Regions from separate parts of the Homo sapiens genome. Here region 1 is linked to region 2. Evidence: promoter capture Hi-C in 16 types of primary human blood cells and fetal thymus (Javierre and others, 2016). All regions are on one chromosome and are shown on one strand. The core of a region is centred on a gene start or on the middle of the fragment in contact, and the rest is flanking DNA. Distances in the headings are between cores, read along the strand shown. Region 1 has its middle 34 kb from the start of GNAS. Region 2 holds the start of RAB22A (RAB22A, member RAS oncogene family).

Evidence for each region. The method cuts DNA at HindIII sites, captures the fragments that hold promoters and counts their contacts. A CHiCAGO score of 5 or more calls a contact.
Region 1: a contact is called between a fragment that was not itself captured here and the fragment with the promoter of RAB22A in region 2, in 1 of 17 cell types (activated CD4 T cells). The highest score is 5.7, in activated CD4 T cells.

The regions. Positions count from the first base shown.
Region 1 is chr20:58,855,032-58,859,375 of GRCh38, reverse strand. It overlaps a transcript of GNAS not described here. Among named protein-coding and RNA genes, the nearest start is that of GNAS, 34 kb to the left of the region's middle. RefSeq lists enhancers at 3,033-3,908, 3,909-4,344. The HindIII fragment of the contact is 537 bases long and covers 1,782-2,318 here.
Region 2 is chr20:58,306,876-58,311,422 of GRCh38, reverse strand. RAB22A (RAB22A, member RAS oncogene family) reads right to left here and starts at 1,708. Exons shown (of 7, transcript NM_020673.3): 1 at 1,411-1,708; 2 at 301-380. The coding sequence starts at 1,446. It also overlaps the pseudogene PPP4R1L. RefSeq lists silencers at 1,310-1,639, 1,680-2,239. The HindIII fragment of the contact is 7,008 bases long and covers 876-4,547 here.

The sequences.
Region 1 (4,344 bases), core at 801-3,300, 550 kb before region 2:
ACAAACAATTAGCCAGGCATGGTGGCACACGCTTGTAATCCCAGCTACTCTGGAGACTGAGGCAGGTGAATTGCTTGAATCTGGGAGGCAGAGGTTGCAGTGAGCAGAAATCCTGCCATTGCACTCCAGCCTGGGTGACAGAGGGAGACTTTGTTTCAAATCAAACAAACAAAAAATGTAATCAGAATGTGTTATTATTATTACTGGTTACTAATCATACTGAGAGCAGTGAGATTTTCCTTTTCAAGTTAGGAGGATACATACAGTAAGGGGATGACCCCCAATTCTTTTTGCTTAAAACCAGTTTTCCATTGTAAATAATGGGGGTAAATTTTAAACATTAATCTACCTATATGGGAAAATTTTTTTTGAGAGAAATCTGTAAGAATTAAAACCAAGGTAGAATTTCAGACTTTGAGAAGCATGAATCTTACTAGGAGACTGAAAAGAGAAAATAATAAATCTATCTGGACTCCAAAATTTTGTGGCCTGATAAGCCATGTCCTTCCTACCACACCAAAAGCTCAGTGGAGGCATTTAGAATATAAAAAAATGGCTGTATGTTAAAAAAGAGAGAGAGAGAGAGAGAAAAGAAAAATAAAAAGGTGCTTCTGCAAGATGGAATACAATGCATACTGTTGCACTTGGTGGCATAAATAATCATACAATTAATTGTGATTCACTGTATAAATAAAGCATCATAGCAGAATAGCCATTATTATATATAGCATTTGCCTACACAATTTTAATAAATGTGGCAGATACTAAGAAACTCTGATCTATTAGCCCCATTCAGTTCTTAAGGAGGAAATCACACCTAAATGAAGTTTTAAAAAATGTTTAAGCCACCAAAATTATTTAAAAACGTAACAGAAACATGGAAACAGTCTATTGGTGGATAGTGTTGAGTAAGAAAAAGGCTTCTTTAAAAAGAACTCTTTAGATATTTTAGAATTTTAATCATATTACTGATTTCTATCTATCTTTCTCTCTCTCTCTCTCTCTTTGATTTCTTAGGATTCCCTGTAATGAGATTAAATTGTCCCGGCAATAAAAACAGAAAGGATAAGCACATGAACATACATTTTTTCAAGCAACAGATGAATCTGCATGTCACAAATTAGCAACCATATCAAAGGACAGCCATTTGATCTGCATTTTCAGTGGTAGGGATGTATGGATGTCTTGTTTTATATGTTGGGACTAAAAAGTTAGTAAAAAGTCTTGTCCTACATGTGAGTAAGTCCTCATCCTTCCTCCTCTCCCTGTCCCCCATCAATAATTCAGGTCCAGAAGAGGTACGTCACCTCTGCAAAAGGAAGCCTGGTCAAAAACTGTAGCCTGCTTTGACAAACTGCAGTGGTACAGTTTCAGCTAGCAGCTAACACTGGCTATCATATTTCAGGCTTATGTTAGACATGGCCCATGGTTTGCCAGCCCACCTTCTGGACTATGCTGCATCCAAAGGTGTTTGGCTACCAGCACCCGAGAACAAAGCCAGGACAAGGTACAAGGTGACCCCAGCAAATTTCCTTTTCTTAAAGTTAATTTTTACTCCTGGTGACAAAATAAGGGGAGACAAAGGAAACTTCTAATATTCTTAAGACTGGTCCCAAACATGGACAGTTTGCTGCAGGATTGATGGCTGCACAATCTATGGTATAAGTCTCCAGTCCTGATGTAAGTAGACTGTGTCTCCTCCACCCCCCACCTCCAGGAAGAATAGAAGACTCAAATCATGGTGCAAAAGCATTCCTTAGTGGAGATCTGCTAGGAAAGCTTCATTTCACAAAGGAGGCAACTGAGGCCCCGCATGTAAGGCACATCACCAATTTGACAATTAGGGGTCAGGTGCACACTGTCACTTGGGTCTCCTGTCTGTATGCATTTATGTCCTCCCACCCCCAATCTACAGGTTTGCTTCCCAGAGCTGTGCTTGGAATATTGAAATGGGTCTGTTATGGCAAAATCAGTTGTCTGCAGGGAAACCAGTGCATTGTCATTTAATGTTTGGTAGCTTTAGTGTAGTTGAGACATTTGAAATTTAAAACAACGACCATATTATATGTCTTTAGGTAAATGACAATGTCATGATCTACCTGGATGGGCATACACAAAATGATCCTCACATTTAAAATTGTGATTTGTGAGAGCCACATCACAATAGCACAGTTATATGCCAATAATGCCATTAATAAAAAACCATCACACATTCTAACATATTTAACAAATGTAGCGCAGCCTTAAAAACTGTGATCTTGAAATCCCTTGGAAGGTCTTAGAGAAAGTCTTAGAGAATAAAATGTAAAAATTAAGCTTGTGAAGTTTGTTTGGAAGTTTTCATTTAAACCACATATTCAGACCATTGCTAATTGATGCTTTGTTTAAATGTGGCAAAAATATTTAATGCCCCAGATTTGAAGTTAAGAAGTCTTGGGGGGCTGGGGGGAGGGTGGGGAACTGGGAATGGCCAGGGAAAGACTGGGAGATACAGGAGAGGGTCTTGCTGTGGGGTGAGGAGGGGGATCCTGGAGAGGGGAGGGCACCGAGAGGTGGGGAAATGTGAGCAGAGGAGGAGGGGGAAGGTAGAAGGCCACCAAAATACCCTCCTGACAAGAATATCATGATTTTTAACTTCTGTAATCAAAATACCTTTATATATTTTTTGTATCCAGAGCCAATTTGCAGAAGACCTTACCTTTGACAAGCCTCTTTGCCCCCAGCTAAAGCTGCCTGAAAAAATTCACATGCAAACATTTACTTGTTTTCACAAGTCATATTCACGGTTTTGCCATACTTTGTCCACACACTTCAAATACACTCAGAGCATTTTTTGAAAACTTTTATTTTAGTTGCATTTCAAACACAAAGGTGACATTCCACTCACAACACATAACCCCCATCTTTTTAAACCAAGCCCCTCCTACTGTACTCTTTGTAAAAATGATTGGCTTACCTCGGGCTCTTCGCTAGGAAGAAAAATTATTTCATATTTTTTAAACACAGCCACGCCCACCCCCTTGGAACCAGCCCCCAAGTGGTTTGGGATCCGGACTTGCCTACAGCAGGTTGTGTTTCCCCTTTCCCCCATCCCCCGACCAGGCGAGCTGTGTGTGTGCAGAATACCGAACTGAGGTGTGCAGCCCCGGGCGCCCCAGATACCTGTGTGTCTGGTTTTTCAACTGTAAAGGCGGGAGGGTTTGGCGAACGAATGAGAAGTGAGGAAACGCTTAGCGCAAAAGGAAAAAGAGAGAAAGACATACAGAAACAAGGTTACGCGGAGGCCGGCGAAAAGCGATTCCCCGCTCCCCCAGGCCAAGGGCCCCGCTTATTTCCCGGGAGGCCCCGCCACCTTCCCCGCGTGTCCTCCGCACCGCTTGCCGCAGAGCGCCCGGGCGCAGGTACCACCAGAGTGTGCGAACAGCGAAAGTTTTTTGCCCGGGCCATGGCGCAAACCACAACACAGCCCGTTCCCAAGTACAAGTACACAGTCGGCGGGTAATTTGGGGGTGCCGGGATAGGAACAGGGGACACTTCAGCGTATCATGCACAGGCGAACACAGAATATGGACACCAACACACACCAACGACAAGCTGTCTGAGTCCAAGCAGCCGTGCCAGGCGAGGCGGGGCGCGCCTTCCCCAATGACCCCAGCCCACCGTGGACCCCACCAGCCTAGCCAGGGGAGTCCCGGGGCCCCGGGGCCCCTCCCCGGCAGTTCCTGGCTCACCTGAAGCCCCTGCCTGTCCAGCTTACGGTTGCTGGCGCTGGCCTGTCCAGCCGGAAACGACCCTCAGTGTCGCTCGGCACCACTTTTCTCCCTGGAGGGCATATACTTCGGCCACCCGAATCCACCAAAGATCCCCTCCCGCTCCCAGGGCAGTTAGGGTCCCTCCCTGGAACTTTCTAGCAAGTTCTTCCCGCCTTTGGCTGGACCCCCTCCTCCCACTGCGGAGCCCCTAGCCCCACCAGGCAGCCCTGCCACCCCCTCCCCGGTTCCCCGGCGGCCCTGCTGCCCGCAGGCAGAGTCCGCCGCATTACCTAGAAGCAGCAGGCGGTGCGTACACATGTAGCCCATCTTTTCGTCCTGGAGTTGTTTGTCGATGAGCTTACTGCGTTTCTTCTCTGCGCGCTTCTGGGCCCGCTTCTCCAGGGCTTCTTTGCGCATCTGTCTGCGCTTCTCCGCCAGGGGTACCTTCTTGACCTTGAGAGAGCGCGAGGCTTTGGGCTGGGGACTCTCAGATCGACCGAAGCAGCCCCCGAAGGCTTGCACGAGAAAGTTGCGGAGTAAGTTGCGCTGGGGCTTTCGGCGGCGGCGATTTCGCCGATGCTGAAACCAGCGG
Region 2 (4,547 bases), core at 459-2,958:
ATTTCAAGGTGTAATTGCTGTTGATATTTATAGACCGAAGCTTCTGTGTCTGTTCTAATAATTAGTAGAACTCCAATTCATATTTGCATTTTGAAGTTCTCACCCCCAACAAGTCCGAAGATAATTTTCCTAAAATACACAGATCCTCACTGGACTCTTTCAAGTCCTTCCAGAGATGATGCGAACCAGCGACTCAGAATTCAATGACTACAAAGCGCAGGGCCTACACCTGTAACACACTATGTATTTGGAAGGATTTTCAATGCACCTTTAGATGTGTATCAAATAAAAGTCTCTTACCCTATTGTTGGGTTGATGTTTGGATCAAAACTGTCTTCCACAAACCGCCACACAATACTCGATTTACCTACACCTGTATCCTGAAAGAGAACGAGATGAGGGACTGAGAAAAAGTTTACCTTTTGGCAGACACCAAAAACTACTTTGTGGCATAAGTTCAGGATTTTAGAAAAATCACCCTAGACGTGTAAATTTTATAAACGGAGGAACACAAAAGCGGTTGTCATAAAAATTCAGTAGAGTAATTAGGAAATTCCAACTGTACTAAAAGGGAGAGGTTTTTGCCGTTAAGACAGATTAGGACCTTTTGAGAGACCCAAAGTTTCTGCTTCGTGTAAAAAGTAACAAGTCCACTTGCTTTTTAACATATGTTAGTAAACTTTGAACTCCTGAGTTACCTCTGAGTAATCCCTGATGAATCCTAGCCCCACCCTATTTGGGGGAATAAAGATTAGTTATTGGAGTTCCTGCCGATCTTTAAGGCAGAAACTCTGGAATGACAGCATCAATTTCAGAAAGAAGGCTTTGAAATGGCCAACACCTTGTCTTTCCTGACAAGACAGGAAGCTGAAGCTTCAAACTAGTCTTTGGGGCTTCCTGATTTGAACACCCCTTTTCTCCACAGGAAGAGTTACTTGGCAAAGTAACTCTTTGGACAAGTGGCAGGGGTATCCCACAAGTTCAAAAACACCCAAGAGACAAAGTAGGCTAATGCTGCTTGTAAAACCTAAAGACCTGTTATTGGTTTTACTTTGGAAGACTTGGCCAACTCCCAACTAATACCTTGGTAAGTTGGGAGAAAACTATTTAAGAACCTCTCTTAACCCAGATGCAATAGAGAGGCAAGGGGGGGCTGTTTGCTCTTTGTGGGGCGGGAAGAGTCCACGGGCTCCAGGGAGGGGAAGGGGAAGGGTCCCTTCGGCCTCCAGGACCTTTTCGAGAGTGCAAGAGGTGGGCGGGACGGCTCCCGAGCTGGAGGGAGGGTCCACGGGGCTGGCAGACAGCGTCTTGGACGTGGGAGGGGGGAAGGGATGAGGGGACAGGGGGGATCCGGGGTCCCCGCCAGCCCAGCCTCCCGTGGCCCTCCCGGCCGGACCCGCCGCCACTCACCCCGAGCAGACACACTTTGAGCTCCCTCAGCGCCATGGCCCGGGAGCCAGGGGCGCGGGCCCGCCGCCGCCCTAAGTTGAGAAGGGAGAGGCCAGGCCCAGCAAGAGCATCCCCTGGCGCCGCTGCCGCCGCACGGCCCAGCCCCGGTCCGCGCAGAGGCGGCTGCCGCCCGTCCTCCGGCCGTAGGTCCGGCCTGTCCGCTGCCAGCCGCGTGGGGCCCGCCTTAGCAGCCGGGACGCCGCCGCGGCCTTCCGGGAGCCGCCGCCGCCGCCATCTTGGGACGCCGGCCGCGTCACCTGACCTCCCCGCCCACCTCGGCAGCCACCTTCGCTGAGAGGGCGGGGCCGGCCGGCCGGCGCGGATCGGGGGCGGGGCCCGAAGCCGACGGCCCCGCCCCTGTCTGCAGGGCCCCGCCCCTGTCTGCAGGGCCCCGCCCCTGTCTGCAGGGCCCCGCCCCTGTCTGCAGGGCCCCGCCCCTGTCTGCAGGGCCCCGCCCCTGTCTGCAGGGCCCCGCCCCTGTCTGCAGGGCCCCGCCCCTGTCTGCAGGGCCCCGCCCCTGCCGGTCCCGCCTCCATGCCCATCCCAAGATGGCGGGTGAGTGGGGCTGGGCTCGGGGGATGCCAGGGGTGCCCCTCTCTCTCTCGCCCCGTGACCACCCCGCGAGGCCGAGGGGCCCCTGCCCGACCCCGTCCCCTCTCGCCGCAGCCCCCTGGTAACTTCTTGTGTGTTTCTTGGTTTTCAGAGATCCCCCTGTACTTTGTGGACTTGCAGGATGACTTAGACGACTGTAAGTAAGAGTTGGGGCACCCCTGTCCCTCCCTGGGACCCTCTCAAAGAATTCAGAGTGCACGAAGCGCGGGGCGGGGGAACCTCAAGCCAGGCACTCCTTGTCGGGACCAGAACAGCGGGACCCCCAACTGCCTAGATCCACTGGTGGCGGTCCCTCCTCCCTGGGCGGGGCGGGCTGAGGGTGGGAGCCCTTCCCTTCCCTCGGGGGAAGGATTTTTGTTGTTGGGGAAACTTTGGACTCCCTGTCACTTCTTTTCTTCCTGCGCCTGCAGCTGCCGTGGGATGGGCGGAGGGGGTAGTCCCAAGTCCTAGTCGACCCTGGGCGGGCGGGGGGTCCGCCACCTGGGAGGTGGGTGACTTCCCTCTCAGGGCCTTGCCCTTTTCCTAGGGACTTTTTAGGACTGCTGGGGGGTTTGGGAGGTCCCCCTCTCGGTGTGGCCGGTCACGGAGTTGCACGGACTTCTCAAGTGTCCTGGCCACAAGCCCGGCTCCATCTCTTATCCCATGGAGCCCATTGGCCCCCGCATTTCTTGGGTGGGACCCTTGTCCCTTCTTGCCCTCTTTTTTGGAATCATGTTAAGGGCTGGTAGCTGGGGGAGGTGTCATCTTAGAAATCCAAGTTCGCATTTCTGGTGAAGGAAGGAAGCGTTTTCTCTCCTGTCAAGAAACTTACTGAGCAGCTATTTGCTCTGGGGGCCACGTGTTGGGCTCCGAACCTGCAAGGATGTGTTGAAAACAGCTCTACACGCAGGGAGCTCACAGGGTGTGGGGAGAGCCTACTTGTAAACAGAAAATTACCGAGCACCGGAGTGCTTGCTGGTGAAGAAGCCCTATATAAATCATCCAAATAGCTAACATTAATTGGGGGCGTACTGTACGCCAGTCATATACAGTACTTCCTCTCATCTTTCATTCCACATCTTCAGGTTTCCTAATAGTAAGAGTTGGTGTTTACTGAAAACTTACCATGGACCAGACAGCGTTAAACTCTTTTTTTTTTTTTTTTTTTTTTGAGACGTAGTCTTGCTCTGTAGCCCAGGCTGGAGTACAGTGGCACGATCTCGGCTCACTGCAAGCTCCACCTCCTGGGTTCACGCCATTTTCCTGCCTCAGCCTCCCAAGTAGCTGGGACTATAGGCGCCCGCCACCACTCCCGGCTAATTTTTTGTATTTTTAGTAGAGAAGGGGTTTCACTCTGTTAGCCAGGATGGTCTCGATCTCCTGACCTCGTGATCCGCCCACCTCGGCCTCCCAAAGTGTTGGGATTACTGGCGTGAGCCACCACGCCCGGCCCAGTCTTAAACTCTTTACACACATTAACTCAGAAGGCGCAGTTTCGGCTGGGTGCGGTGGCTCAGGCCTGTAATCCCCGCACTTTGGGAGGCAGAGACGGGCAGATCACTTGAGTCCAGCCTGGCCAACATGGTGAAACCCTGTCTCTACTAAAAATACAAAAATTAGCCGGGCTTGGTGGCGCGCGTCTCTAATCTTAGCTGCCCGGGAGGCTGAGGCAGGAGAATTGCTTGAACCTGGGAGGCAGAGGTTGCAGTGAACGCCACTGCACTCCAGCCTGGGCGACAGAGTGACTCCGTCTCAAAAAAACAAAACAAAACAAAACAAACCAACAAGGGGCAGTTTTGTTAAAGTAGCATAACACTTTTGAAGGGGTAAAGCAAGCTGATAGTTAAGAGCCCGGTGTCTGTGGAATCAGATGGCCAAGAGTGAAATCCCGTATCACTGTTTACTGTCAGTGTGATCCCAGGCAAGTCGCTGTACCACTCTATGCCTCAGCGACCTCATCAGTAAAATGGGCATTATAGTGGCCCACCTCAAAAGGCTTTTATAAGGGATTAAATGAATAAAGGATTTAGCACAATGCCTAGTATGTAATAAACAGTTGGTAAATAATGGCTGCTGTTACCGTTATTCATGTGATCATTATTAGTAGTTATTTAACACTGTTGAGCCTGGTACAGTATAGATCCAGGTTTACCCAGCTGAATGTTTCAGCCGATGGGCATGCTCAGATTGAAGGAGTTGTATCATTTCCGTTGATACAACGGATAAACAATGTTTAGTTGCCATGATGGTGCTTGTCATTCATAGATGTGGTATTTGGTCTGACTGGAAAGCTATTTTCTAGCTGCTTCAGTTATCTAACCACCCCAAAACTCAATGGCTTAAACCAACAGCATTTGATTTCCCACAAATCTGTGAGTAGACTGGGTGGTGCTTCTGCTTAATGTGGTTTCAGTTGGGGAAGTCCGAAATGATGTCACTTATGTGGGTGGCATAGGTCCTGGCTGTTGGCCAGGACTTCAGTTCTCCGCGAGGTGCCCTTTCCACTT